7 separate regions of the Homo sapiens genome follow, and all the other regions are linked to region 4. Evidence: promoter capture Hi-C in 16 types of primary human blood cells and fetal thymus (Javierre and others, 2016). All regions are on one chromosome and are shown on one strand. Each heading gives the region's core, a stretch centred on a gene start or on the middle of the fragment in contact. The rest is flanking DNA. Distances are from core to core; before and after follow the strand shown. Region 1 overlaps RAPGEF2 (Rap guanine nucleotide exchange factor 2). Region 2 overlaps RAPGEF2 (Rap guanine nucleotide exchange factor 2). Region 3 overlaps RAPGEF2 (Rap guanine nucleotide exchange factor 2). Region 4 holds the start of PPID (peptidylprolyl isomerase D). Region 5 overlaps RAPGEF2 (Rap guanine nucleotide exchange factor 2). Region 6 overlaps GASK1B-AS1 (GASK1B antisense RNA 1). Region 7 holds the start of LOC101928007 (a long non-coding RNA gene).

What was found. Contacts are between HindIII fragments. The CHiCAGO score rates a contact against its expected background, and 5 or more counts as called.
Region 1: a contact is called between a fragment that was not itself captured here and the fragment with the promoter of PPID in region 4, in 17 of 17 cell types (M2 macrophages, non-activated CD4 T cells, erythroblasts and 14 more). The highest score is 12.9, in M2 macrophages.
Region 2: a fragment that was not itself captured here is called in contact with the fragment with the promoter of PPID in region 4 in 16 of 17 cell types (M2 macrophages, erythroblasts, non-activated CD4 T cells and 13 more); the score reaches 14.3 in M2 macrophages.
Region 3: a contact is called between a fragment that was not itself captured here and the fragment with the promoter of PPID in region 4, in 17 of 17 cell types (M2 macrophages, megakaryocytes, total CD8 T cells and 14 more). The highest score is 17.8, in M2 macrophages.
Region 5: a contact is called between a fragment that was not itself captured here and the fragment with the promoter of PPID in region 4, in 11 of 17 cell types (erythroblasts, M2 macrophages, megakaryocytes and 8 more). The highest score is 18.6, in erythroblasts.
Region 6: a fragment that was not itself captured here is called in contact with the fragment with the promoter of PPID in region 4 in 1 of 17 cell types (M2 macrophages); the score reaches 5.7 in M2 macrophages.
Region 7: a contact is called between a fragment that was not itself captured here and the fragment with the promoter of PPID in region 4, in 1 of 17 cell types (M2 macrophages). The highest score is 5.2, in M2 macrophages.

What each region holds. Positions count from the first base shown.
Region 1 is chr4:159,263,212-159,266,913 of GRCh38, forward strand. The region is part of intron 7 of RAPGEF2 (Rap guanine nucleotide exchange factor 2); the gene reads left to right. Among named protein-coding and RNA genes, the nearest start is that of MIR3688-1, 140 kb to the left of the region's middle. The HindIII fragment of the contact is 4,147 bases long and covers 1-3,486 here.
Region 2 is chr4:159,288,352-159,292,141 of GRCh38, forward strand. The region is part of intron 7 of RAPGEF2 (Rap guanine nucleotide exchange factor 2); the gene reads left to right. Among named protein-coding and RNA genes, the nearest start is that of MIR3688-1, 160 kb to the left of the region's middle. The HindIII fragment of the contact is 2,906 bases long and covers 514-3,419 here.
Region 3 is chr4:159,241,388-159,244,937 of GRCh38, forward strand. It overlaps RAPGEF2 (Rap guanine nucleotide exchange factor 2), which reads left to right. Exons shown (of 30, transcript NM_001394067.2): 7 at 2,387-2,404. Among named protein-coding and RNA genes, the nearest start is that of MIR3688-1, 110 kb to the left of the region's middle. The HindIII fragment of the contact is 1,119 bases long and covers 1,651-2,769 here.
Region 4 is chr4:158,720,735-158,724,646 of GRCh38, forward strand. It overlaps PPID (peptidylprolyl isomerase D), which reads right to left and starts at 2,662. Exons shown (of 10, transcript NM_005038.3): 1 at 2,470-2,662; 2 at 609-749. The coding sequence starts at 2,554. RefSeq lists enhancers at 2,072-2,655, 2,289-2,768, 2,656-3,240. The HindIII fragment of the contact is 3,604 bases long and covers 514-3,912 here.
Region 5 is chr4:159,313,593-159,317,233 of GRCh38, forward strand. RAPGEF2 (Rap guanine nucleotide exchange factor 2) reads left to right here. Exons shown (of 30, transcript NM_001394067.2): 9 at 999-1,176. Among named protein-coding and RNA genes, the nearest start is that of MIR3688-1, 190 kb to the left of the region's middle. RefSeq lists an enhancer at 2,325-2,619. The HindIII fragment of the contact is 250 bases long and covers 1,180-1,429 here.
Region 6 is chr4:158,195,480-158,199,308 of GRCh38, forward strand. It overlaps GASK1B-AS1 (GASK1B antisense RNA 1), which reads left to right. Exons shown (of 5, transcript NR_147410.1): 3 at 3,309-3,391; 4 at 3,609-3,829. Among named protein-coding and RNA genes, the nearest start is that of TMEM144, 13 kb to the right of the region's middle. The HindIII fragment of the contact is 473 bases long and covers 1,786-2,258 here.
Region 7 is chr4:158,178,663-158,182,366 of GRCh38, forward strand. It overlaps GASK1B-AS1 (GASK1B antisense RNA 1), which reads left to right. Exons shown (of 5, transcript NR_147410.1): 2 at 999-1,073. LOC101928007 (a long non-coding RNA gene) reads right to left here and starts at 3,563. Exons shown (of 4, transcript XR_007058350.1): 1 at 3,404-3,563; 2 at 2,198-2,276. The HindIII fragment of the contact is 1,646 bases long and covers 864-2,509 here.

The sequences.
Region 1 (3,702 bases), core at 163-2,662, 540 kb after region 4:
TAAAGTTTATCAGATAATCAACTTTTCTTTTAAAAGAAAATGCACTATTAATGGGGGATGTATTGGCTTTAGGAAAAGAGAAGTAAAACTTCTGACCATATCTACCATCTTTTATTTTGCATTGGCTTAGTGCTTAATTAGTTTGATGTACTCATATAGAAAATAGCATTTTAAAATGACATTTTTGGGGGGAACAGTGAAACACTAAAAATCCAGTTTGTAAAATTTGTTGTTTTCTCGTATCAAAGAATGACTTCTTTCTGCTATACCCACAAGTTTTCCCCAGCCTCTATGGTTTTTCCTCTGTGGTAGTGGGGAGAGGGAATATTTAACTATTAAGTGAAGTAAGTGGTATTAAGAAACTTAGAATTCTATTTTGCATTCTTCTATACTACTAACTCTATAATCTTATACACTTTATTTTTCTATTAAAGATAAGTACATTATTCTCTTGATTCCCTTGCGTTTTGATGAAGTTTAATTAAATGTTTGTAAAGCACATTGAGATCTATGGTTAAACACTGTATATGTTCTAAGTGTGATTAATCATTACTGAGAACAGACCATTTTTCTCAATTTCATAGTAATTAGAAAGTGAATACTTTAGGTGGAAAAAAAAAGAATATAATGATATTAAATATAGCCTGGAAAGCCTTTGCATTAAGTAGTTTCCTGAACTATATAATCTCCATTTTTTTGGAGTGTTGTTACTGATAATTTGGAAGTCATTGGATGTTATTGACAGGGTAGAAAGTTCTTACATGGTTCTTTTTCTTAACAAGATCTAGTTAATGCTACTTGGTAATGGTTAAGGAATGGGGTAAATATAACCCAAATTAGAGTGAACTTCAAGGTAAGTGTGATTTTTTCTTATTTGTATAAAATCTATAATATGGGTTTCTCCTAAATCCTTTGTTTATATTTCTTTAGCAGTGTTTGGCGTATTATAACCTGCCATAATTGTGTTTCAACATACAAGATAGTGTGGATAACGAAATTTCTGTATTACAATTATGAGTTTTAAGATGTGTAGGTTGTAGGCATGGAGCCAGGCTGAGAGAGAGATCATGCCAAGTCTTAGCACAGAAAAGCATCAGTGCCTAAGGATGTGTGATTTTACTTCATCTATAAGGTTTCCCGGTTAGGTTAGTTTCCTTCTTGAGATAAGTCACACATTTTCCAGAGAGAGGCAAGCAATTGGTAACCTACATATATAAAGTCAGATACCATCAGCATGGGGGTAATTTGACTTAACCTTGAGAGGAGTGTTTTGGCACATGGATATGTGTTTTGTGGGACACGGGCCAGATGGAAGGTGTAGAACTTGATTGTTTAATCCCTGAGTTGCCATTTACTTTTTTTAAATTGTGATAAAATATAAGTAACATTAAAATTTACAATTTTACACATTATTAAGTGTAAAAGGCCAGTGGGATTAAATACATTCCCATTGTTTTTGCAACCATTACCGCCATCCATCTCCAGAACTTTTTTGATCTTCCCAAGTTAAAACTCTGTGCCATCAAACAATAACTCCCCAATCCCTCCTTCCCCCAGCACCTGTCACCCTCCATTCTACTTTGTGCCTACGTGAATTTGACTATTTGACTACTCTGGTATCTAGAGTAGAGCATTATATATTATTTGTCCTTTTGTGACTGTCTTATTTCTAGCTTGATGTTTTCAAGTTTTATCCATGGTGTAGCATGTAATAGAAATTCATTCCTTTTTAAGGCTGAATAATGCATATACCACACTTGTATGAATATCATTCATACATTTTTATCTGTCGATGAACACTTGGGTTGCTTCTACCGTTTGGCAACAGTTTACTTTTAAGTCGTTAGTTATATCTATTACAGAAAAATATTTGGACTTTTGACAGAAACTAGTCTAGAGGATTAAATGGGGTCTTTCTAGTGCCCTTTCCCAGTCAGTGGAAGGTTCACTCACTCAACAAGAACGTGAGTGCCTACAGTGCTTGGTGCGGTGAACACAGGAGTACACACAGACAGATATGGCACCAGCCATCATGGAGGTGAGAGTGTAGTGGAGGAAGCAGACAGTAACTGCTTAAATACTCTTGGGACTACATGCAAAATTACAACGGTAGTAAATGAGTGCTTCAGTGAAGGGATAAACACTAACATGAGATTTCTGAGGGTATTTCACCAGTTTGTTTTTGGGAGTGGAGGTGGCATCAGTCAGGAAAGGAAGGAAGAAGGAAAGTTTCAGGCAGAGGAAATAACATGTGCAAAGGCCCTTTTGTCTATGAAGGAGGCAAGAGCAGCCCCTGCAACTTGGGAGTGCAGAGAGTGACCATGAGCATGGTGTAAGTCTGGAAAATGTATAAATCTTGCAGATCATGATAAGAGTTTTGGTCTTTATGCCAGGAGCAGTGGGAAGCCATGGAAGTGTTTTGTTTTCATTTGTAAAAGGAGCTTAGTGGATGAGGGCAAAATGATCAGGCTTTAGTTTTTATAAGATATCAGGAGGTGGTATGGTAAATAGGTTGGGTGGATGGAGTTAGAATCCAGACAGTTCCTTAAGGAGACTTTTGCAGTTCTCAAGGCAAAAAATAATGATTGGAGTGGGATGATAACAGCAAAGACAAAGAGAAATCTAAATTTGAGAAAAATTAGAGAATGTAATAAACAGATGTTGTGATGGATTGATCATGGACAGAGATGTTAAGGAAACTCTTAGATGTAGAAATGGCATAACAGGATCACTATGGTTCATCATGTAAGTATTCCATGGGATGAGGAATGGTGAAAACCAAAACAGATTGTTGAGAGATTTGGTTGGGAAGTGGAGGAAGAGGAAAATACCTGGTCTGGAGAATGATTCTGTTTTTGTTTTGTTTTTGAGATAGGAGAGACCTGCACATTTAAAAGCTGGTGGGGAGGACTCCGGTTGTGGGGCAGAGGTTAAGCATATGTGGCAAAAGAAGGATAATGGGTAATGTAAGAAAAGGGGTTGGGGGGATGGGGAGAAGGATCCAAAAGAGTGATGTGGTGGGAATGGTTGCCTTTAGATATGAGGAGAAAGAAGGAAAGAGAATAGGGTGGGTACAGTCTTTGGCAGTAGTCAAGAAACACAAGTCAGCAAGCACTGACAGTTCCAAAGTCAATTATTAAAAATGCTACATTTTCTGTGTCTATTTTCTATTACATGTGCCATTGATAGATAAACCTGATTGTGAAAAGCTGACAGTGTTTCAGAATTAAAATGTCCTTATTCTTTGTCAAGTATAATGCAGTCTTTCAAATACCTACATATGTACATGAAATTAAGAGTTTATAATAGAATAATGTATCCGCATTTTATTTCAACTCTCTACCTCTGAAGTTTGGTTTGGTTTTTTAAAAAAAAAACCTGGGTAGGTTAATTTTTTATATTATTTGCAAGGCAATATGTGCATCTGTGTGTGTGTATGTGTGTGTATGGGTGTTTGTGAAAATCACATCATCTAAATGTATACAAAGCTTGTCAAGTATGCATTTTATAAATTTTTGATAGATACTTGTTTACTATAGCACAGCAATATTTGAGGATGGGATAGAGGTCACATTGATTCCTTTATCTTCACCTTGGTGAAAAAAATCATATTTTAGTTCAAAGCTGTTCAAGTAAGTCCTTGCTCCGTTTTCCCACCCTGTCTTCAGTGATATTATTTGGAGTCAGCAATCAATGGATTCC
Region 2 (3,790 bases), core at 717-3,216, 570 kb after region 4:
GTGCTTCCAGCATATCAAATTTTTACTTTTTTAAAAAGTTGAATAGCTGAATACAGAGGCTTCTCTAAAGTACCTTCAGGTTAGGTTTTGAAAGGCGATTTTTAAGTTTGTTGTCCAGATGGCATACCTCACTCCATTCTAACTTGTCTTCCTACTTCCATTCTAACCCCTTACAAGCCATTTTCCCCACCCCCTGCCAGAATGATCTTATAAAACAAAACTGGGTCTTGTTAACTTCCTGTTTAAAAAACCCAGTGACTTCTCATTGCACTTACAGAGCCTACTTTTTGGTAGGCTTAATCCCTACTGCCTGACCCCATTTGTACCACTCAGCCTTTCTCACGCCTTACCTTCCAGTGCATGAACTCCTCAGAACCGTCAGATTCTGAGTGCATGTTTTCTCCCTCAACATTCTCACTCTTTACCTTCCAGTCACCTTGAAATTGTTTCTCGACCATTCCTAGGTTTATCCCACCTGAAGGTCTTTACTCTGGATATTCCTTCTGTCTGTAAAGCTTTCCTTCCACATCTTTGGCTGGATCCTTTGTATTTATTCACCTCTCACTTCAGATGTAATTTTCTCAGAGCAGCCTTCTCAGATCACCCAGTCTTAAATAGTATCCTCTCCATTCCCAGCCATCACCATCTATTACATGCTCTTCTTGTGGTATTGTCTCTACAGTACTTACTGATAGCTGAAATCTTTTTTTAAAATTTTTTATTGTTACATATTCCTCCTTTCCCCTTCTCCCCTCAAGCCCCTCCTCTCTTTAAGGGTGTAAGTTTCAGGGAGCAGGGATTTTGCTAATCCTAGTCATTGCCATATCACTAGTTCCTATAACAGTGACCGGCTTGTTACAGGATGTCAGTAAATACTTGTTGGATAATTAAGTAGATGAATGAATCTTATGGTTCTGAGTAACTTTATATATCTTCATCTGACAGGCTTCTTGTTGAGATCTATGATAGGAAGTTAAAAATATGTTGAGTTCAGAAGTTTTGTCATTAATTTTTTTGATGCTGGCTTCCAGGAAGGCTAAACTAAATTTATTGCATAACTACAGTTGCTGTTCATTGTGTTTTAGTTTTATTCTGGTGATCTTACCTATAATTGCTGATGGAAGGGGGTGACTATAGAGCTGGTAAGGAAAAGAACATTGGGATCAAACAGTCCCTGTTCAATTTCTCTCAGCCTCAATATCTTCTACTTTAAACTAGGTAGGGTTACCAGTTCAATGATCTGCTCATTAAATACTTACTATACCTTAGGTACTATATGAGAAGCTAGGAAAAGAGTGATGAAAAAGACACACCTAGAGAGGGCATTGGATTATTAAATCAGCAGCTACTGTAAAGGTATTTAAGTTCTGTGACAGGCAGCATTCTGGGTATCACAGGAACATCTTACAAGAATTTCTAACTTCAGGAGGAGGGTTCAGAGAATTAGCCAGGCCAGGGGTGAGAGTGTTCTTCCCGGAAGAGGGAACAATGAAGACCCAGGAGGAGATACAGAGTATCTCGCTGTATTTAAAATAACCAGAAATAGATTTATATATTTAGTACAGAGGCTGAGGGGAAGAGAAGTGAGTGTGAGAAGATCAAAAGGAGAAGACAGTGGGGTGCAGTGGTTAGGAATATAACTTTTTCCAAAGGGAAAGAGAAGCCACTAAAACATTTTAGGCAGGGGAGTGACAGGATCAGGTGTGTATTTTCCTATCGTGTTTTAAAAGTTTACTTCTGGCTGCGACATGAAGAAGAGGGTGTTACAAGAAGCAAGATAGGACAGTGGTAGTACAGTGGCACCACAGTGAAGTGGGTTCATATTTGTAAATCCCCTCTCAGAGTGCTGTCACACATAGTGGGAGCTTGGTCAATTTTTTAAGTTCTGGGTTTTCCTAAGGTGAATTGAGGCTGTGTAACTTCAAGGTTATGGAAGTTAAACTTTTTGTATCTAAAGGCATTTTCAAAGTATTCCTGCTTTTGTGTATGTGCATGCATGTGCACTGACACCACAGATTTTATTTAACCAGTCATCAGGTTCTCTGAATGGATTTTAATGAAAGCTACTCTGTTTCCCTGATTTCAACCTAGGATGATACATCAGTATGCATACACATACACACTTAACAGAAACATTTAGAGAAAGTAGCTGAAGTTGAGGAAGGTAAACCACAGCTTAATACAGCAATAGAATATTAAAAGTTTGTATTAATTTGGGAAGAATGTACTTTCTAAGAGAGTTACTCAACTGGTGATGTAAATCAATCATGGCAGGTGACTGAGAAAGTCATGAAAAGTGCTGGAGCATTGGCAGAAGTGAGGGGGTCTCTTTTAGGTAATGTGTGCTTGACGATGTCATAGTCATTCAGACTATTCATTTAATGGCATGTGTCTAAGGTTTACAAAAAAAAAAAAGATGAAGGAAAAGAGAAAAATCTATTAGACTTCTTGCAGTTTATGAGTATATATTCCTGCTGGCCCTAGACAGTGAGTAATGCACCACAAATGTTCAGTCAGTTCTTGTATAGTGCCCTCCCGACAGCCAAAGCAATGAGATTACCTGGCATGCCAGGGTTGACACATGAAGCCTTTGAAAATAAATGTGAAATTAAATTCTTATCATTGAAATCCTTAGAAATAAATCCTAACATGGATATCTTTGTCACAGAAGTAAAAGGAAAAATTGATAGACACATAACATGAATACCCAGTGTTTTTGTTAGCAACTTAAGAAGGGTAACATAATTATTTTTTGTCTTAAAGATTATTGTCTAGCTCAGTTGTAATACCCGTCACTAGAAAAGGAGTACCTGTGGTGGTGGTTGTTGCATAAAATCTAGAAGCAAATTTTTAGAGGTAGGATCTGAGATGTCATTTAAAATCAAGGTAGTTTCCTGTGTATGTGTGAATATATACATCTGTGTGTGTGAGGATTGGGTGGAGATTAGTAATTATTTTTATCATTTTTTGAGACAAGGTTTCACTCTGCCATCCAGGCTGGAGTGCAGTGGCGCAATCACAGTTCACTTGACTTCCTAGGCTCAAGCAATCCTCCCACCTCAGCCTCCTTAGTAGCTGGGACTACAGACGTGTGTCATCACACCCGGCTAATTTTTGTATTTCTTGTAGAGACAGGGTTTTGCCATGTTGCCCAGGCTGGTCCCAAACCCCTGGACTCAAGCTATCCTCCCACCTCAACCTTCCAAAGTGCTGGGATTACAGGCATGAGCCACCATGCCTGACCAGACAATTTGCTTATTAAATACTTACTGTACCTTAGGCAGTATTTGAGAAGCCACACAGTACATAAAGTTTCTCAGTTGATAAAGTTATATAACCAGTGTATCCACAAATGATAACTTAGAATAGATGGAGTTTCACAGTTTTGAGTCACTATCCATTGTATATATATCAAGACAAGCTTTAGTGCTGTTGTTTTTTTTTTTATGTCCTCTTGATGTAAGTTGTAATGAATATCTTTTTCTGTTAAAGTTATGTGGAATTACTGTTAATGTTTTATTTTTCTTATCTCAAAAGTAATTCATATTTATATTTAAAATTTTAGAAAATGTAGATAAGCAGAAACAAATTTTAATTGTCCATAATCCTACCATGTAATTATAGCTATTGTTAACATTTTCTTTATACCCTTCCATAGTCTTTATTTTGTATATGTGTGTAGAATTGGTTCACGTTAAAATGAGGAAAATCTTTTGTGCAACATTACCACCGTTGCTGATATTTAAAATGTGTTGAATTATTGACTCGTACATTTTGAGCTCCCAAAACC
Region 3 (3,550 bases), core at 960-3,459, 520 kb after region 4:
TATTTTTATTTATTTCTAGTTTTTTGTTGGGGTTTTGTGAAAAGATGTTTAAGTTTTCCATTTTTGACAAATCTTTTCAATTATATATATATACACACACATTAAGTATACTTAAATATTTATTTTTATTTGTTATATTAATAAATATAAAAATAAATATATAATATGTATATATTATTTAAACATTTATTATAGAAAGAGTAGATTTTTCTGGGAAACATGATATGATTAGTTTTTAAAAGACATTGAAATAACATGTCAACAGACTTTGCTAGCTCCTTTATTTCTTAAGTTGTTCTCTGAAGATCAGCTTTGTGATAAGCACATGTAATTGTAATTGGAATATTTTAAGTTGTTTTACCTTAATCTAACATTTTAGCGCCCTCCTGTGCACTCCACCCTTCACTCCCAACCCAAATGACTGCTGTCATCCCTGTTTTTTATTTTAAAAGTAGATATGTAAAAATTACATTATTTTTCATAGCTTTTTATACCTTTATGAGAATATCTCTGAGATTTATTTTTTAATGCAGTGAAGGAGGAATAATTTGAAATAATGCTTTTTAAAATCTCAATGTAAAGATGCTTAGAAATATTTCTAATAGGTTCAAAGATCCTCTTAAAGGCAGGCAGACATAACCCAGTTCATTGTCATTTATTTCATAAATATTGATAAATAAACTGCTTTTTATGTTTGAGGAAACCAAGACATAGATAATGAGTGCTTTGTTCAAGATCTCAATAAAGTCACTTTAAAGCCTTTTTTTTCTTATTCCTTTGTTTTTTCAAGAGCAAAGTCGCTTAGATTCCTGGATATGTCATAATAATGTGAAAGATCATTTATGCATATAATACCATTAAATGAGTGGTTATTTTATGTATAATTAATTTAAAATAAAAATATAAAAAATAAAAATAGATAATTAACAACTATTTTACATTCCCCAGTTGTTTTCCTTTACCTTTTTTTTCTTTCTTCCTGCAAATAAGTATAAATACAAAATGCATGGGAAAAATGTACACAGACTTAAAATTATTTACTCAATTTTTAGTAAGTTTAAGTGATATATCTTATACCCACACTTCATATATTCTATTTCTCAGAGAGCCCTTTTTATTTAAATATTTAATGTGGTTTTGACCACTAGCAACCTGACTACTCCTCTTGCTACCCATGAAGTATTTTAGTTTAACATGGATTTCATAGTTGAATCATTTTATTGAGCTCATTTGGAAAGGACTGCTTTTTCCTCATCACAAAGACATCTTTGTCTGTTGGAGAGACTAGTATTAAAAAAACCATGAAAGGTTTTTTTGTTACCATTGTCCATAAAAAAGGTAATGTTTTTAGGGTTGATGTAGCATTATGGAAGAAGGAAATATGTATTAAAAATAGTTATACATATTAATAGTACAACACAGATAATATTTTAGCCTAGCATAAATATTGCTAATTTTTTTCTGCTTTGGAATTGTTTTTCCAGATTAGTTTTCAGACTAAAATAGTCAGTGGGAGTATGGATTATTTAAAATGTAGCGTTAAAGTTGGTTTGTTTGTTCTTATAGTCATATTTGTCACACTTTAGTTGGGTGGGCCATTTAATAACTGTTCTCTCCCCTCACCCCCAGCGTGATTCCCCCTTTATGGAAAGCTTCATTCAGTTTCCTTACACGGCTCCCTTTTCATTATTTGTTTTAAAATATGTATTTCTTTTATTGTTACAAGTTTTTTTTTTTTAAGTGGATTTTTAAGAGTGTCTTACCTAGCCAGCAGATACTTTTAGGGAAAATTCAATAGTAGGATGAAAAAATTGGCTTGATTACTAATGGATCATATACTGGTTTACTAATGTGTGACATGTGGTATTAATTTTACTAAATGAGTTAAGATTGGCAACAACATGGTCATAAGGATTGCATCCTTTTTTGGGGTGTAAAAATAACATTATAATTTATTATTTATTTTACATAAATACATAATTTTAATGTAGGAAGATTGCAAAATTTTGTTTTGTGTGTATGATACCACATAGTAAAAAGAATTAAATAGAAATTATTCTTTATTACCCCTACGCCATATTTACTTATTCTTAACAGAAATAGTTCTCTTTGAAAGAAATTGGCTAATAGTGAAGGACTGAGGGTGAAAAGTTTATTTAAAAGAATTGCATGATCAACTTCACAGGTGATTTAAAGTCATTGCAAGAGCATTTCAAGTGCATGGCTAAATAACATGGGAAGCATTATACATATAGCTGATTCTATATGATCATTCTTAACTTAATTTTAACATTATCTTCATTTTGGCAGATGTAATATAGCATGTCTGATAATGTTCATCTTTTCCTTTCCTCCTTTATGGCACTCATTTCATTTTGGCTCAAAGGAATGCACTAAATCTCAGGTATTGTAATTTGTGTGTGGTCTTCTGACACTAACCTAAGTTTACGTGTGAATTTGCACTGTTACTAATGAATTTATAATATTCATATGTTTTGCTTCGTCTTGTCCTTCTGTATTTTGCCCTAATTTACTTTGAAATTATCAGTGGTTTGGGTGGTAGAATAGGCTGCTTGATCTGTACAGACCTGGGGATGGATTGTCCATGTTGAAGAAAGAACTCAAGTGCAAGCTACTTATTTTTAAAAATGAATGGAGCACTTAAAAAAATGAATGGAACACTGTCCTTCACTAACCTGCTTTGCAAATAAAAAAATGAAGAGAGAAAGGCAGGCAGACATAAAGGATTTTTTTTCCTTTTTATGTGAAAGCTTATGGGAAATTCATTAGAAATTTACATTTTAAATACTACAGATGAAAACTTTAAAGTTCAGGAATCTCAATGGGAGAACATTTTGGGAGGCCACTGGTAAAATTTCAGTCAGATTTTTTTTTAAAAGGTTGGTCAAAAAGGAAACAAAGTTTAAAATCTCTTGTATTTTCTTATTTGCACTTTATTTTTAACAAGGTTTCTTGCTTTTATTTCATTCTACATTTTAATTGAGGTCTGTAATAATCTCCTTGCTCACTTCTTTGATGCCAGTACATGACTAAGTACTATACTAAGTACTAAAGTACATTACTAAAGTACTGTACTAAGTACTAAAATCTATGATTTTCATTATGAGTTCTTTGAAGATCTAGATTACATTTGGGGTTATCCGGGAATTTTGAGTCAAGGAAGAAAAACTGATTTATCCTTGAAAACTAATTGGTTAAGTAACTAGTAGCATTTTATGCTTGTGTTTTATTGTTGTACAGGGAAAAGATCATGAATAATTTATTCACATTGGGGAAATCTATCATTGATATATCTTTGGCTATTAGAGTAACTTTGCCTAAAAGTATGAATTTTATGTATAATTTTTCGAATTAAAATGAGACAGTTCCTTTATGTTCTATACAAGAGAGTACGTATTAGAATGCCACAGGTGTCATGATTGCTATATTGGTTTTTGGAAGCACTACTAATTTTTAAATGATGTGGTAAATCTAAAACATTTTTATGTAATTTTAAAATTTTAAGTTCACTAAAATAATTTTAAAATTG
Region 4 (3,912 bases), core at 1,412-3,911:
GGCAGAGTCTCACTCTGTCGCCCAGGATGGAGTGCAGTGGCGTGATCTCGGCTCACTGCAAGCTCCACCTTCTGAGTTCATGCCATTCTACTGCCTCAGCCTCCCGAGTAGCTGGGACTACAGGCGCCCACCATCACACCCGGCTTATTTTTTGTATTTTTAGTAGAGACGGGGTTTCACCGCGTTAGCCAAGATGGTCTCGATCTCCTGATCTCGTGATTCACCCGCCTCAGCCTCCCAAAGTGCTGGGATTACAGGCGTGAGCCACTGCGCCCGGTCTATGCATAACTTTTTTGTCACCAGGCAATGAAGCTACCTAAGGTTGGTTGACTACGGCCTTCCTTTCTCAATCAAATCATCTTAGAGTGAAGGAGAATGAGAGGATGGGTAAAGCTAGGGGAGTCCATTTCTCTATAGATAAACCTTAGTACCATAAGTAATTCCACCTCGCACAGCCTAACCTTTACGAAACTGCGTTACTGCCTCAGACATGGACGCTAATAGTACTTTTTAAGCTTCACTTCCTACTTAGTGTTTTCTTCCCCAAATCCTAAAGAACAGGACTTGTCTGTATGAAGAATAACAAGATTAAGAAAATTTACACATACTTCGATGAAAAGGGCATCCTTTGAAATGGAGAGGTTTCCCAGTCGTGTGTCCAATGCCTTTTTCTCCTGTACACAGTGCACGAAAATTTTCCGCAGTTTTGGGTACGATATCTGCAAACAATTCTAAGACAATTCGACCAACTAAAAGAAAAGAAAATCTTGTCAGTATGCAAAACAACCAAATAGACAAATGATAAAAAGAAGGTTGGTATAATTATGGTAGCAGATCAATCATGAATTACCAAGTTCCCCTTTACTGTAATTTTTCTTTTTTGCAATTTCAAGAACACAACACATTGCTACTAACTATAGTCATTATGTTATACAATAGATCTCTTAAATTTATTCCCCCTTTCTAACTGAAATTAGGTCTCTCGTGATCAACATCTACCCAACCCCTGAAATCCACCATTCCATTCTCTACTTCAAGGTCAACTTTTTAGAAACCACATGTAAGTGAGATCATGCCTTGTCTTCCTGTGCCCAGCTTATTTCATGTAACATAATGTCCTCCATATTAATTCATGTTGTCAGAAGTGACAAGATTTCATTATTTTTTATGGGTGAATAGTACTCCACTGTGCACATATATCAAATTTTAAAAAAAATCCATCTGTAGATGGAAACCTAGTTTGATTCCATTATCTTGGCTATCATGAATAATGCTGCAATGAACATGGGAGTGCAGATACCTCTTTGACATACAAACTTCATTTCCTTTGAATATACTCACTAGAATTAGTGAATCTTATTTTATTCTAATATTCAAATTTAGTCTACCTACTGTCATGTATGTATATAAACAGATTTGAAACATTACACTAAGGATCATAACCAATTATAGTAGCCAAAAGATTAGCACCATGTAAGAGATATCATTAAATACAAATAGTTTTAAATCCTGAGTAATTTCTTCAAGAGGTACTGAGAATTTCCAATCACCAAGCAACCAACGGGAGAAAATTAAACAGTCTTTGGGTGGGCGGACTTGCCACGTGTTACGTATACCTGCAGCCTTTGTGCTCTGAGCAAACTGCCTCATGCAACCTCTGAAGCAAAAGCTGTAAAAATTCCTCCTCTAGATAGCAGCTAAGACAGGTGAGATTAAACCTAGCCCTAGCTAGTTGCAACAAACTGAATGTACGTGTAAACGTGTGTGTGTCCTGTACATGCATTCAAACACATTGCCTGGCCAGCAATTCCAACGTGTTCCAGAACAAGGCCAATCCAGTTACAAAGCAACACGCTCCCTAATTCACCAGGCCTTAGGAACTTCTGAGCGGCTATGTAACCTAGGCAACACCATCACTACGTTGAGCGCATTTTCCCAATGGCAAATTAAGAGAAAATGTTTGCTCATCTGAACGGACCTCTAAATTAAGAATCAGTAATAAGGCAAAAGCAATGAGCAAACAAGTCCCTTTAACGTATAAATAACACAGCACGTGCTGATATATTATCTCATGTGGCAAATATAGTTTCCTGGGGCCCAGCAGACGCATATCCCAGGATATGCTTTCCGAACTGTCCCATTGCAAACATAAAATATTTCATGCTAACTTGGTAGTGCAAAGGTGGCGTGGAAGTGCCACCAAATCAGGAGGCAAACCTAAAGGACGCCACAATTCCCGAACTAGAAATTTCCAGAAACTTCCGCACCACCGATGGCATTGATACAAGGGCGCTGGATCGATCTAGCCCTAGATCTCCGGGCCTGCTCCGGCGGACCAGCCTAGGCAGCCATCCCCTCCGCGAAACTGAGCAGTCACCGGCCGGAGCCGCATTCCGCCCTTGGAATCCCCCAAATCCCGGGAACCCCCGCCTCCTCGGGGCTTTTCCGCGAGCGTCAGACTCCGCTCACCTCGCTCCCCTCCGATGTCCACGTCAAAGAAGACTCGAGGGTTACTGGGGTTGGAGGGCTTGGCTTGGGGGGACGGGTGCGACATCTTGACTTGCAGACGTGTTTAGTACGGAATATCAGAGTACCTAGTGGCCGCCCGGGCCGCCCAAACTCCAGAGTCCGTCTCCGCCGGAGACCGGCAGCGACGCTGACCGGCCACTTCCGACGCAAGAACCGGAAGCCATGGCCTGACTTCCGGCACCGCCCCGCTCCCCCGCGCGGTGTTTCAAAGAGCCTGAGCGACTCCGTGCAGCGAACCGCGTGCCCTCCGCCACCTGTTCCTGGCTTCTCATTTAATGAAGTTGCGATCCCAGTTCTCATTATTCTTCTCGCTTGTGTTTCGTTGTCTTTCCCACCCTCGTGGCGTAGAGAGCTTTGGAGTCAACCCCATGCCAGCGTCAGCTCTGCCACCAAGTTGGGTGTGACTTCTCAGAAACTCAGTTTGCTCCTCTGGAAAAAGAATAAAAACGCTGACCTCGGAAGGTCGTTTTGAGGATTAAAGACATGAATCAGTACAATGCCTGGCATAAACTGGTGGTACCCAACCAATAGGAGCCTTATTATTGCCATGTCGTTACAATTTGATCTTCACATTACAATGTAAGTGGTAAGGCTTAGACTAAACGCTCCAAACAGCTAAAGCTGAGAGTCCAGAAGAGAGCACAGTTTTGATTCCTGATAAAACTGTATTTGGCGGGGCGCGGTGGCTCACGCCTGTAGTCCCAGCACATTGGGAGGCCGAGGCGGGCGGATCATTTGAGGTCAGGAGTTCGAGACCAGCCTGACCAACATGATGAAACCCGTCTCTACTAAAAATAAAAAAAAAAAAAATCACCCGGGCGTGGTGGTGCTTGCCTGTAGTCCCAGCTACTCGGGAGGCTGAGGCAGGAGAATCGCTTGAACCCGGGAGGCGGCGGTTGCAGTGAACCGAGATCGCGCCACTGTACTCCAGACTGGGTGACAGAGCGAAACTGTCCCCCCCCCCCCCAAAAAAAAGAAAAACAAAAAAATACTGTATTACTATAGCCCACTTTTCCCTTATGGGGATCTGTGTAAAACATTTACTTTTTACACACACACACACACACACACACACACACACACACACACATATATATGAGGAGAACATAGCCTTGCCTCTTAATAAAGCCTAATTTTGGAGAAGAGTGGCAATTCCCTGTGTAGATGCTTTGCCCTGTAGTTCTATTGGAGCTCAGCAATTTGGATTCAGCCTGAGGCTTACTTTATCAATAAGGCAGGAGATATCCTTAGATGCTTCACATTTTTTTTTCTTATGAGAAAGTAAAAAGTATTGGAATCCAGCACTCAAATAATGTCTCAAAAGCCAGGAGCCTTGTGTCAACAGCAGCAGCCAGAGTGGCTTTTTGGAAGGAAAGACCAGTG
Region 5 (3,641 bases), core at 55-2,554, 590 kb after region 4:
TTGAGAATCGTATGGGCTATGATTTGAAGTTGAACTTTGTAATATACGTTTTCTACAAAATTAATAATTGTATAAGATGTTTTCAAGATTTTAATATTTCATTTGGAAAAACACTTCTGTTCAAGATTGATGTAGTTAATATTTAATTGAATTCATTTTTACTATGCTTAAGTGATAATTGAAGTCTAGGTATATAATGTCAAATAAGATCTGTATGATATATACATACATATTGCTGAGATGATAGTCACAAAAGGCTACATGGTGACCTAGAAAGGATAACTGTTCTAGGATTGAGCTAGTTCAACAAAAGAGGCCATCTTGAAATGTGTGACTCCAGTGACTTAGAAAATTTGCAGGTATCTTGATAACTTGAAGTTTAGTGATGTGATTACCTGTGTTGATGAATGGGAAGAAAGAGTATGTTGCCTTTACGCGTATGGTCTCCTATAGTGTTTCTCGATTTATAGTTTAACAGTGGTCATTGGGATAATCCAACTAATTGTTAATGTTTCGTTTGCATATTTATCAAGTTACCTTTGATTTGTGGCTCATTTTTCCATAAGGACTGTCTAATTGGGGTAAAATGGTCCAGGCTTCTTGGCATTAATAAATTCACACCTATTCTGCAAAAGGAATTGCTCAGAATTGTCACCCTTAAGCTGTTAGCCTAAGCCATTCTCTTTGAAGAATGGAGTGAAAACAAATACTTTTTCTTCTTTATTCTACTATGTTTCAAATGCCATATGACAGCTAGGATAAGAAATCAAAATTACTGAGATAAAGTCGTTATTCCTGACCAAAAATTTAATAGGAGGTGGAATCACTCATATTTTGTTAAAGTAATTGTTACATGTAGTTTCTGGTGCATACATAGTTGTTGGATGGAAAAATAAATATAACAAGCATTATTTTGAATGAGGCTTGCTCTTGTTTCTTTGGGCCCCAAAGATTTATTTACTTAAAATAGTTTTTAATTTTTGTGTGTGTGTCTTAAGGCCACAGAAAGCGAGGCTGGTGATATGGACCTGAGTGGGTTGCCAGAAACAGCAGTGGATTCCGAAGACGACGACGATGAAGAAGACATTGAGAGAGCATCAGATCCTCTGATGAGCAGGGACATTGTGAGAGACTGCCTAGAGAAGGACCCAATTGACCGGACAGATGATGACATTGGTAAGCTTGAACAGGAAAATGAATCTACGAGCAATTAAAAAGATTTAGTGGCAAAATTGTCTGATGAAATAGAGCCCAAGACTAGTAGGCTTTAAAAACTCATTAATTTATTAATTTCCTTTGTATAAACAGTAGTATTTGTTGGACAAAAATTGGAAAAAATCAGGTTTACTCAGTCTTACCTTCAGGAGTCTACAAATAATAATGTGAATGAAACTTCTTAGTAAACCCTTTCCACATAAACCCTTTCTTAAGCTTAGTTTATGACAAAAAAAAAAAAAGTTAAAATGAGCCTTTCAAGCAGTATTACTTCTATTAATTTTCTCGTGAGCACTGTTTTTATTAAGCTCATGTTTTCTGTATGTAAACATAAAGGCAGTTGGTAAAATTGTCACAGTGATTTGCTTCTACTCTGGTTTTGTGTGAAGACGCAAGTGGGTGGAAGGAGACAGCAAAATGTCAGGTTAGTGGCATATAGGCTGTGTGATGGTTGAGACTTTTTTTCTGTCTTTCTTTTGCTGTTTTTGTCCTTTTTTTTTTTTAATTTTTATTTTATGTTCAGGAGTACAAGTGCAGGTCTGTTACATAGGAAAACCTGTGTCATGGGGGTTTGTTGTATAGATTATTTCATCACCCAGGTTTTAAGCCTAGTACCCTGTAGGGACCAGCCCCACAGGGTCGGTGGGTCTCTCCCCATGTGCAGAGACGAGAGAGTGTAGAAATAAAGACACAAGACAAAGAGATAAAAGAAAAGGCATTTAGGCCCGGGGACCACTACCACCAAGTTGCGGAAACCGGTAGTGGCCCCGAATGCCAGGCTGCACTGGTATTTATTGGATACAAAACAAAGGGGCAGGATAAGGAGTGTGAGTCATCTCCAATGATAGGTAAGGCCACTTGGGTCACGTGTCCACTGGACAGGGGGCCCTTCCCTGCCTAGCAGCCGAGGCAGAGAGAGAGAGGAGACAAAGAGAAAGACAGCTAATGCCATTATTTCTGCATATCAGAGACTTTTAGTACTTTCACTAATTTACTGCTGCGATCTAGAAGGCAGAGCCAGGTGTACAGGATGGAACATGAAGACGGACTAGGAGCGTGACCACTGAAGCACAGGATCACAGGGAGATGGTTAGGCCTCCGGATAACTGCGGGCGAGCCTGACTAATGTCAGGCCCTCCACAAGAGGTGGAGGAGCAGAGTCTTCTCTAAACTCCCCCTGGGGAAGGGAGACTCCCTTTCCCGGTCTGCTAAGTAGCCGGTGTTTTTCCATGACACTGAGGCTACCGCTAGACCATGGTCCGCCTGGCAACGGGCATCTTCCCAGATGCTGACGTTACTGCTAGACCAAGGAGCCCTCTGGTGGCCCTGTCTGGGCGTAACAGAAGGCTCGCACTCTTGTCTTCTGGTCACTCCTCACTATGTCCCCTCAGCTCCTATCTCTGTATGGCCTGGTTTTTCCTAGGTTATGATTATAGAACGAGGATTATTATAATATTGGAATAAAGAGTAAGTACTACTAACTAATGATTAATGATTTTATATATAATCATGTCTATAACCTAGATCTAGTATAACTATTCTTGTTTTATATTTTATTATACTGGAACAGCTCATGTCCTCGGTCTCTTGCCTCGGCACCTGGGTGGCTTGCTGCCCACAGTACCCATTGGTAATTTTTCCTGAACTTCCACCTCCTCCCACCCTCTAACCTTCCGAAAGGCCCCAGTGTGTGTTGTTCCCCTCTGTGTGTTCATGTGTTCTCATCATTTAGCTCCCACTTACAGGTAAAAACATGTAGTATTTGGTTTTCTGTTCCTCTGTTAGTTTGCTAAGGATAATGGCCTCCAACTCCATCCATGTCCCTGCAAAGGACATGATCTTGTTCTTTTTATGGCTGTATTGTATTCCATGGTGTATATTTACCACATTTTCTTTATCCATTCTATCATTGATGGGAATTTAGGTTGATTCCATGTCTTTGCTGTTATGAATTGTGCTGCAATGACTTTAAGTGTACCCAGAGGTTAAAAATTTAAGTAGCTTTATATCCACCTTTCCATCATAGCAAGAGTTGGTTGTGTAGTAATTGTTTTGGATTTGAGTATGCCTCCCAGACTCTGCCTTGTTTCTTCGAACACTGGAAATGAGAGCAACTTCCGTTGAGAGTCATCCTTCCACGAGATTTCCAGGGTCCATAGCCACCCTTGCCTGAGCCTTGCTTGTCTGTTGTACCACTCCCCCAACTCTTGGGCCAATACATATTTGAAGGGCAATTAAATGAACTGAATCTGTTGGAATTGATAAAGGATGGTGTGGAGTGGCTTGTTACATGAGTTTGAGTGACACAAACATGTATGAGGAAAAACTTTCACCATTTCAGCTATATACATATTCTAGGAAATTAAAGGCAAAAAAAAACCAAAACCTTAGATTAGACATTCAACATTTAATTGAAGTAATTTATG
Region 6 (3,829 bases), core at 772-3,271, 530 kb before region 4:
AGAGGAAACTCATCTGCCTTAGGCAAAAAATGACTTTTATTGCTGCACCGAATCCAAGAAAGAATTAAACCAACAAACAATGGTATAGTGGACTCTGGTAGCTATAGTGCTGTCTTCTCAGAATGTATTACAATATCCTTTATAGTAACTGTACCCTTCACTTCTCATGTTTTCTGTAAAGCTGTGTCTGACTCTGACTTATCCACAGACACAGAAGTAGCATATGAGCTGGGTCTAGCCAGAGTGATTGGTTCAAAGGTGGTCATGAGACCTAAACTACACCAATCAGGAGCCTTCATTAGACTTTTCCCCTACAGCCTTTGTCTTCGGGGTCATCCTTTAGGAAGGATGAAAAGACACTGGAGCAGCTTGCAGCCATCTTCCTCAGTGCCCTAGAAAAAGCATAACTGCATGAAGTCCAGTTGAGACTAATTCAAAAGCTAAAATAAGCAGAAATGGGAGATATATAAAAACAGAAAACTAGCAGTCCTGAAGTGCCAGAAGCATAAATAGAGGCCTGGTTACTGCAGCTATTTGATTATATTAGCTACTTTGATGTCCTTCCCAATTATATAAGAAAATGAATACTTTTTTTCCTTCTTAGTATAGTTAGCAAGGGTATCCATAATATAAAGTACAAGATTCTTCATTAATACCTGTTGAAAAGATAGCCTACTGAGCCCCAGGAAAAACTAGATCTAGCCACCAGAATGTCACCAGAATCTAGTTTTCTACCTTTCATCTGTACCTGTCTCTGGATGTCAGTTTTATTCTTTCTCACTGCAGACTGTTTTCATTCGTATAGTCGGAAATGTGACTACAAACAGCTCCCAAGTTTTACTTCTGATAGGTTTTATCTCCGAAGGGAACTGCCTTTTATTTTCTGTGCTTCCAATTTCAAATATTCTAAGGAAGGATTGTAACTGACCCATCTTGTGTTACATAATGGATCAAACAGTTGTAACTAGAGTCTTAAAATACTATGATTGGCTTAGCTTGGGCCAGGTTGACATTCCTGAACCAATCAAATGGGAGCCAGGGTGGTGGGCTCATGCAAGAAAATGGCAATGCTCATGGAAGCTGTAAAATTAGACCAGGGAGAGAAACAATTCTAAGAAGAATAGAGGTTCTATTTCCAGAAGAAGGACAAATGTAGCTATAAGTGCCTCTTGTAGGAAAGATGGTATTTTAAACATGTTGAATTGTTGAATTTGAGACCCCATGGAGGATCAAAAGGAGGTCAAGGAAATGCGGCCAGTTGAAATTATTACTCAAGCCTGCAAGAGAAAATTTATGCATTTATCTGATTTTGATGAAAAAGATTATTTCAGATTATAAATTTCAAATTCCATATATGGTTTTACCCCAAATTTACCTAGGTCTCTAGGTTTCAAAACAACTTTGCACATGTAAAATGATTATGCACTGTAATACAGTAATTGTCAATTAAGAGAAAGGGTTGTGAATCACAGAGGCAAGACCTTAGGAGAAAAAAAATCCTGATCTATGTTTCTCCCCTATGAGGAAAGAGACAAAGCTATGGACTAGCAGAGCCTGAAGACCCCAAGATTTTTGGTCTAAGAAACTGTAGTATTGCAACTGATAAAGGGAAGATATGTCTAGGGCAGGTTTGGGGTAAGTTTGAGTTGTCTCTCAGACGTCCAAGTGGAGATACTGAGTAAGGTATTAGATATATGGGACTGGATTTCAGAAGAGTGATCTGGGAACTCCAAAATTAAGAGGTTAGGAATAAAAGGAAGAGCCATCCAAGGAAACTGATGAAGAAGCTTTGAGAGTAAAGGAGAATAACCAAGGTAATGTGGTGTTCTAGCAGCCATGTGAATGCAAAACCTGAAAGAGAAGGGAAAAATCAATTGTGACAGATGCTGCTGAAGAGTGACACAAATAACGACAGAGAATTAACCATTAGACTTAGCAAACTGGCTGCCACTGGTGATTTTGACAGTTTCTATGCAGTAAGAAGAGCAAAAGGCAAGAGTTACACTTTAGCCACAAATGCCAGCCGACAAGGCAGAAATTAGATGGGTCGTTGTCCTGGAAACTAGAGGATTTATGAGACATAGCATCTAACATCTTAGGACTCTGATTCATCTATGTTCATAATGCCCTGAAAGCCCCACCCCTTCCCTCAGACACAAGGACACTACCTGAGGGAGATAACTCGGGGGGTTGGAGGGCTGTGTAATAAACTAAGCGTTGTTTGTGTTTTACTTTTTGCCAAGGCAGACTATTGATAAAGCTTCTGCCTAAATTAACAGATCAAACTAAGCTTTAAATCAAAGTTAATGTTTTTTCTTCTTACCAGCAGGTGTAGAGAAAGAACAAATCAACTATGACAAAACTAATAAAACTATATTTTATCCTCATGTTGGATGTGTTACCTGTGTTAAATCTTTAACCCTCATGTGGGTCAAATTTTTCTTATGTTTTCACTAGTAAACTTCCCATATCAATTCATAGCTTATGCTTGATAATTTTTTCAAGCATATCTGATTTTTTCTTACAATCATTAATATTTGACAACTGTTAAGCTGTATCTTACTGGTGATTTTGGTTCATGAAATTGAATAATATCCAGGTAAAATCCTAAAGGTAAAAATCAGGATAAGTTTGAAAATGGGTCATCCACCTGAAAAGTAGAAGAATAATGGGAAGAGAGTCAAAATGAGAGGACTCAGGAGTTAGAAACAAAAAGAGAGAGAGAGAGAGAGAAGGGGTAGTGGATGAAGCAGGCTTAGATAATTTTTGAAAGTGCATGTAAAAAGACACATTACAGTTTTCACCTTCTATAGATACTTATTTGCATGTGTATTTCAGATCTCATTAAAGTTTCAGAATAAGGTGCATATCTCACAATATTTTGGAAAGCATATTAAGAACTAATAACACAAGCACTGAAATCAGAGAAAATTTGGTTTAAGAACTAGCACTACCACTTATTAGCCACATGGATCTGAGCAAGTTACTCTTTGAGACTCAGAATCCTCATTCATAAAATGGAGAAAATAATAGTATGTAACTCACCAAGCTGTTCTAAGAATTGAACAAGATGATGCAGATAAGGCTCTCTTTGCAGTGCCTTCCCAAATAAAGGCTCAATAATTATTAGTAGTTATGGTTAGTGTTATTATAGATCATTGAGAAGTCTTTCTTTAGAAGCCTTTTCCATCAGTACCTTTTTTTTTCTTACTTATTTCTCCAGCCCTCTTAGGGCCCTTGAAGAATCTCATCAATGATACTCTCACCAGCACCTTCAATTACCTTTCTCCTCTGTATTTTCACCAAAGGTATTATGCCAACTCTCACCCTGTGAATCCACTGACTGGGGAACATTGTTTAAGAAAATCACATGGCTGTGCCAACAAGCAAGGTAGGAACGGCCATGTGGTGACCTGTGGGCTGAAGTTAAGTGTTGTGGTTTGATCATTGTGTAAGGTAGAATCAGAGCTGGATCTCAAAGAATGTTGACTTCATTTCTTCTTCCTTTTTTTTTAATTAGTTGATTTGTTTGGTATATTTATTTACTTATATATTTTTTGCTTTGGGTTTTGGTTTTGTTTGCTTTAAGTTTTGGGAATTCCTTACAGGAGACACGGCACAGAAGACAGAGGCAGAAGCAGCTTTATTGAAAAACAGAGCATGAGTAGAACGACTTCAAATCCCATATGGCACCACAGTGAGAAGTAACTTCCTCTGAGCTTCTTAGAGAATCCAACAATGTCCTGCTTCCTTGGGGAGCTGCAGCCATGGGCACATGGGAATAGGGCTTCCACCAAGAGTCCCGTCAGTCACAGCAACAGGAGGTCTT
Region 7 (3,704 bases), core at 437-2,936, 540 kb before region 4:
ACTCAATGCTTGTCACTAAAGCTGGATTCTGTGGGGAGTATGCAATGTCTAAGGCACTGCCTGGACATTAACTGAATGAACAAATGCATGAATGAATGAACATATTAAGATGGTAAAACACATCCCAAGGCCAGTGGTTCTCAAAGTGTGGCCCTGAACCAGCAGCATCAGCTTCACCTAGAAATTTGTTAGAAATGAAAATCCTCAAAACCCACCGGAGACTTATGGAATCGGAAACTGGAGGACAGTCTTGTTTCAATACAGATATTGAAACAAGCCCTCCAGGTGACTGCCCTAGTGAGAAGCCCCAAAAAGAATGGGGCAGGCCAGGAGGAAGACAGAAAGATGCCAAAAGAAGAAGGACAGAAAAGCAAAAAGTTGGGAGGTGATTCAAAACAATATTTGCAGTTTATTTAAGGTCGTTCTATTCCTTTTGCCGTCTTTATGAGAGTTCCATTTCCTTCCTGATATTTTACCCTTTGGATCAAAAACACAGAATGTGTTAACATCACATACCCTGCCCAGCCACCCACTCTCACCTACTCAGCTCTATAGATTCAAGCCCCTTCTCAAAGCAAGTTCACAGCATGTAGAAACCGGAAAAAGAAGGAATTTGAGAGAGACTACAGCTCACAGCCCATGGAATGAAAACCAGGAGCACCCATGGCTGGGTGTGGAGGGACTGCCTAAGGAAAAACACCAGAGAAAAATCAATCCTCAACAGCCCATCACCAGTTATGAATCCATAAAGACTCCTTTTATAGTAAAATCACACTGTTTTCCAAAAGGCAGTCATCGGGTTCCCATGGTCATGTAACCTGTAGCATAGCCAAAAATTATAAGCCTAAAAGCTTTTGGTTAGAAGCTTGGAATGGGTTCCGAAATAAAAAGATGAAAAGATACCAAGGAGTATAACACAGGAAAAAAAAATTGAATATTTTTATAAGAATGAACATGTCGTTCTCTAAATATAACACACTCCAATTATTTTTCCACAGGAAATGACCAGTGCTTTGGTTAAGAATGCACATTATACTGCAGTTCTTTGGGGAATGAAGCCACCCTTGACTGAGGTAATCATCAGTTCAAAGGCAACTCCTTGTTTTATCTTTGCACTAATTGCTTAGAGAAATAACCAGACAATATAATTTATGACAACAAATCTGCATTTAACTGAGTTAACGAATTTGTAAACAAAAAGATTCCTATCTCAGGTAGGTGCTTTTGGCAAGATATTTAATTTTGCCCAGTTTCCTCATCTGAAAAGCTAAGAGTATTATATCTAGTACACAGAACGGTTCTAATAATTAAATTGGATGCTATATGTAAAGCACTTAGCACAGTGCTCAATATACTGTAAGATGTAATTGCTCATTCATTATTTTCTCTTTTCTTGCAAGGATGATACTAATGGCTAGGCACTCTCTAAAGAGATGTAAGACACTGTTGGTAAGACTCCTTGATCAACACATGATTTCAGGTTCAAGAAAAAGTTGTATTATTAAGTTACTAATGCAGCAAATTATCCAGAATTTGCTTCACTATCTTCTTTTATACTTAACAAAAGACTTAAAATATAATCAGGACTGTAGTCTGCATGCTACTTTGGATTCAAATCTTTGGCAATTTTTGCCTTTGAAATTTAGAACTAGTCTATGGTAACCTATATGAGGCTATAATGAGGTAAGTCATGGCAATGTAATTGAAATGCGGGGTATCATAATTGAATACTTGTTTTACCTTTCTTAATAATGGCATCAATCTCATAGAGCTGGTGTGAGGATTAGATGAATTAATACATGCAAGCCCTTACCATGCCAAAAAAAAAAAAGTCAGCTTTGTCATTATCAGGTGGGGAAAGACAGACCTTAGAAATATTCATTTATCACGGTCAAAAGGAGATTCAGAGTTGGTCATGCCCATTTATACTTTGATCAAGGGAGAGGTCACCCAATTATTGAATGGATTTAGACAGTTCTCCTGGCAGGTATCTCCTTATTATGGAGAAACCTGTAATCGCTTATTAGAGACCGAAGTATTTGTTGTCATATCTTTAGACTCCTCTATTATTCAATTTTTTTCATTTAAAATATTTTTGGAGCAACTATCATGTGAGAGACATTGTGAAAACACTTTGGAAGTAGCAGTTAAAATGATATACAATGGCCTAGCAGTCAAGGGACTTACAGGATCCTACCTTCTAGGCTGGACTCCCTTCTCAAAATTTCATTTCTATCCTGTTCTCCACCTTCTTCCTCATCTGCCACCCTGAGAACCTGCCCAAACCAAACAGAAATGTCTAGTTTCAGGTCTCAATTCTTCCCATTCTATCTGTCTCAATATAATTAAGTAGACCATGCCTACTTACCTTAAATATGTCAATTCTAATCATGCTAAATTTGTCTACCAAGTGACAGTATTGGACTGCTTTGGGTAGTTTTATAGATAATTCATTTTCATTGATAAATAATTCACCTACCAATCTGTCATAAGTTTCAAACTGAACCAAAGCTTATTTTCACTTATTCAATTATTGAATCATGGAAAAAAAGACATTCTTCTTTTCGTTAAATAAGAAAAAATGCTTTACAATTAATTGAATTTCAGCTAACAGGTGGATAGATTTCTTTCTAAAATATATAGCTTTGTAAAATAAAAAAGTTTAATAAGTTGAGTTTGGAATTTCTGCAGCCAAAGCATATAAGTGTCTGAGAGGCTTGGTGAACATAAGTTCATCACGAAACATTTTTACTTCTTTTCAAGTTTTCCACAGAGAGCACAATTCAAAATTAAAATGTATAACTTTCTGTTTCAAGCAGTATATATTGTCAGGCTGGAAACTCTCAAAGGCCATCTTACCTAAAACCTAGACCCAGAATAAATAAGGAAAAAATGCATATAATCCATTGTTTACAAATTTCCTAAAAATGAAAGATTCTGAAATTTAAAACTTCCATAAATGACATCAAGGTATCTGCGGTTAATATTAGAAATCACAAGCATACAAAGAAAAAAAAAACACAAAGAGAGAGAGAATTTTTGGAATTATTTGAATCCAAACATAAATATAGATAGATAAATATAAACTGTTTAAAGGAAGACAAAGGGAACATGCAACAAAAGGTTTTAAAAATGATTGGGTACACATTAAAAAGAAATCTTAAAATAACATTTAGAAATGATAAAACTGTTCAAATTAAAATTCACTGGATAAAATGTTGGGCCCTGGAGTCAACAGTGTAGCTTACATTTAACTAAACCTCCTACCAAAAATAAGTTTAAAAATTGGAAAAATATATATATATAAACAATCTTCTGAAGGCATTGGAGAGCCAGTGCAAGTAATATTGAGCAGCTAAAATCCTTGAGAAAGGGAAGCACACAAGATGTATTCAACATTCACCTCGGAATTTTCCTGGGGGCATTTTCCAAGTTGTGGTGAAGGCGAAAAGAGCCCAAGAAGAAAGCAGGAGTTTCACACGTCAGAGGAGACAAAGTCTGGCGTTTCAGGACGCCAAAGGAGCTGTGATTTGAGGAGCAAACTATTGAAAAAGACAGGAAGCTAAGAGAGTGTCCCCAAATCTGCATCCTAATTTCCCTCAAATTGTGGGTAAATTTCTGACTTGTGCATGTACAAGGCAAGCCTTCAAGATATGTAGTGGGAAACAGCAAACAGAAAGCTTGAATGCTGAGCAGAGATTTCA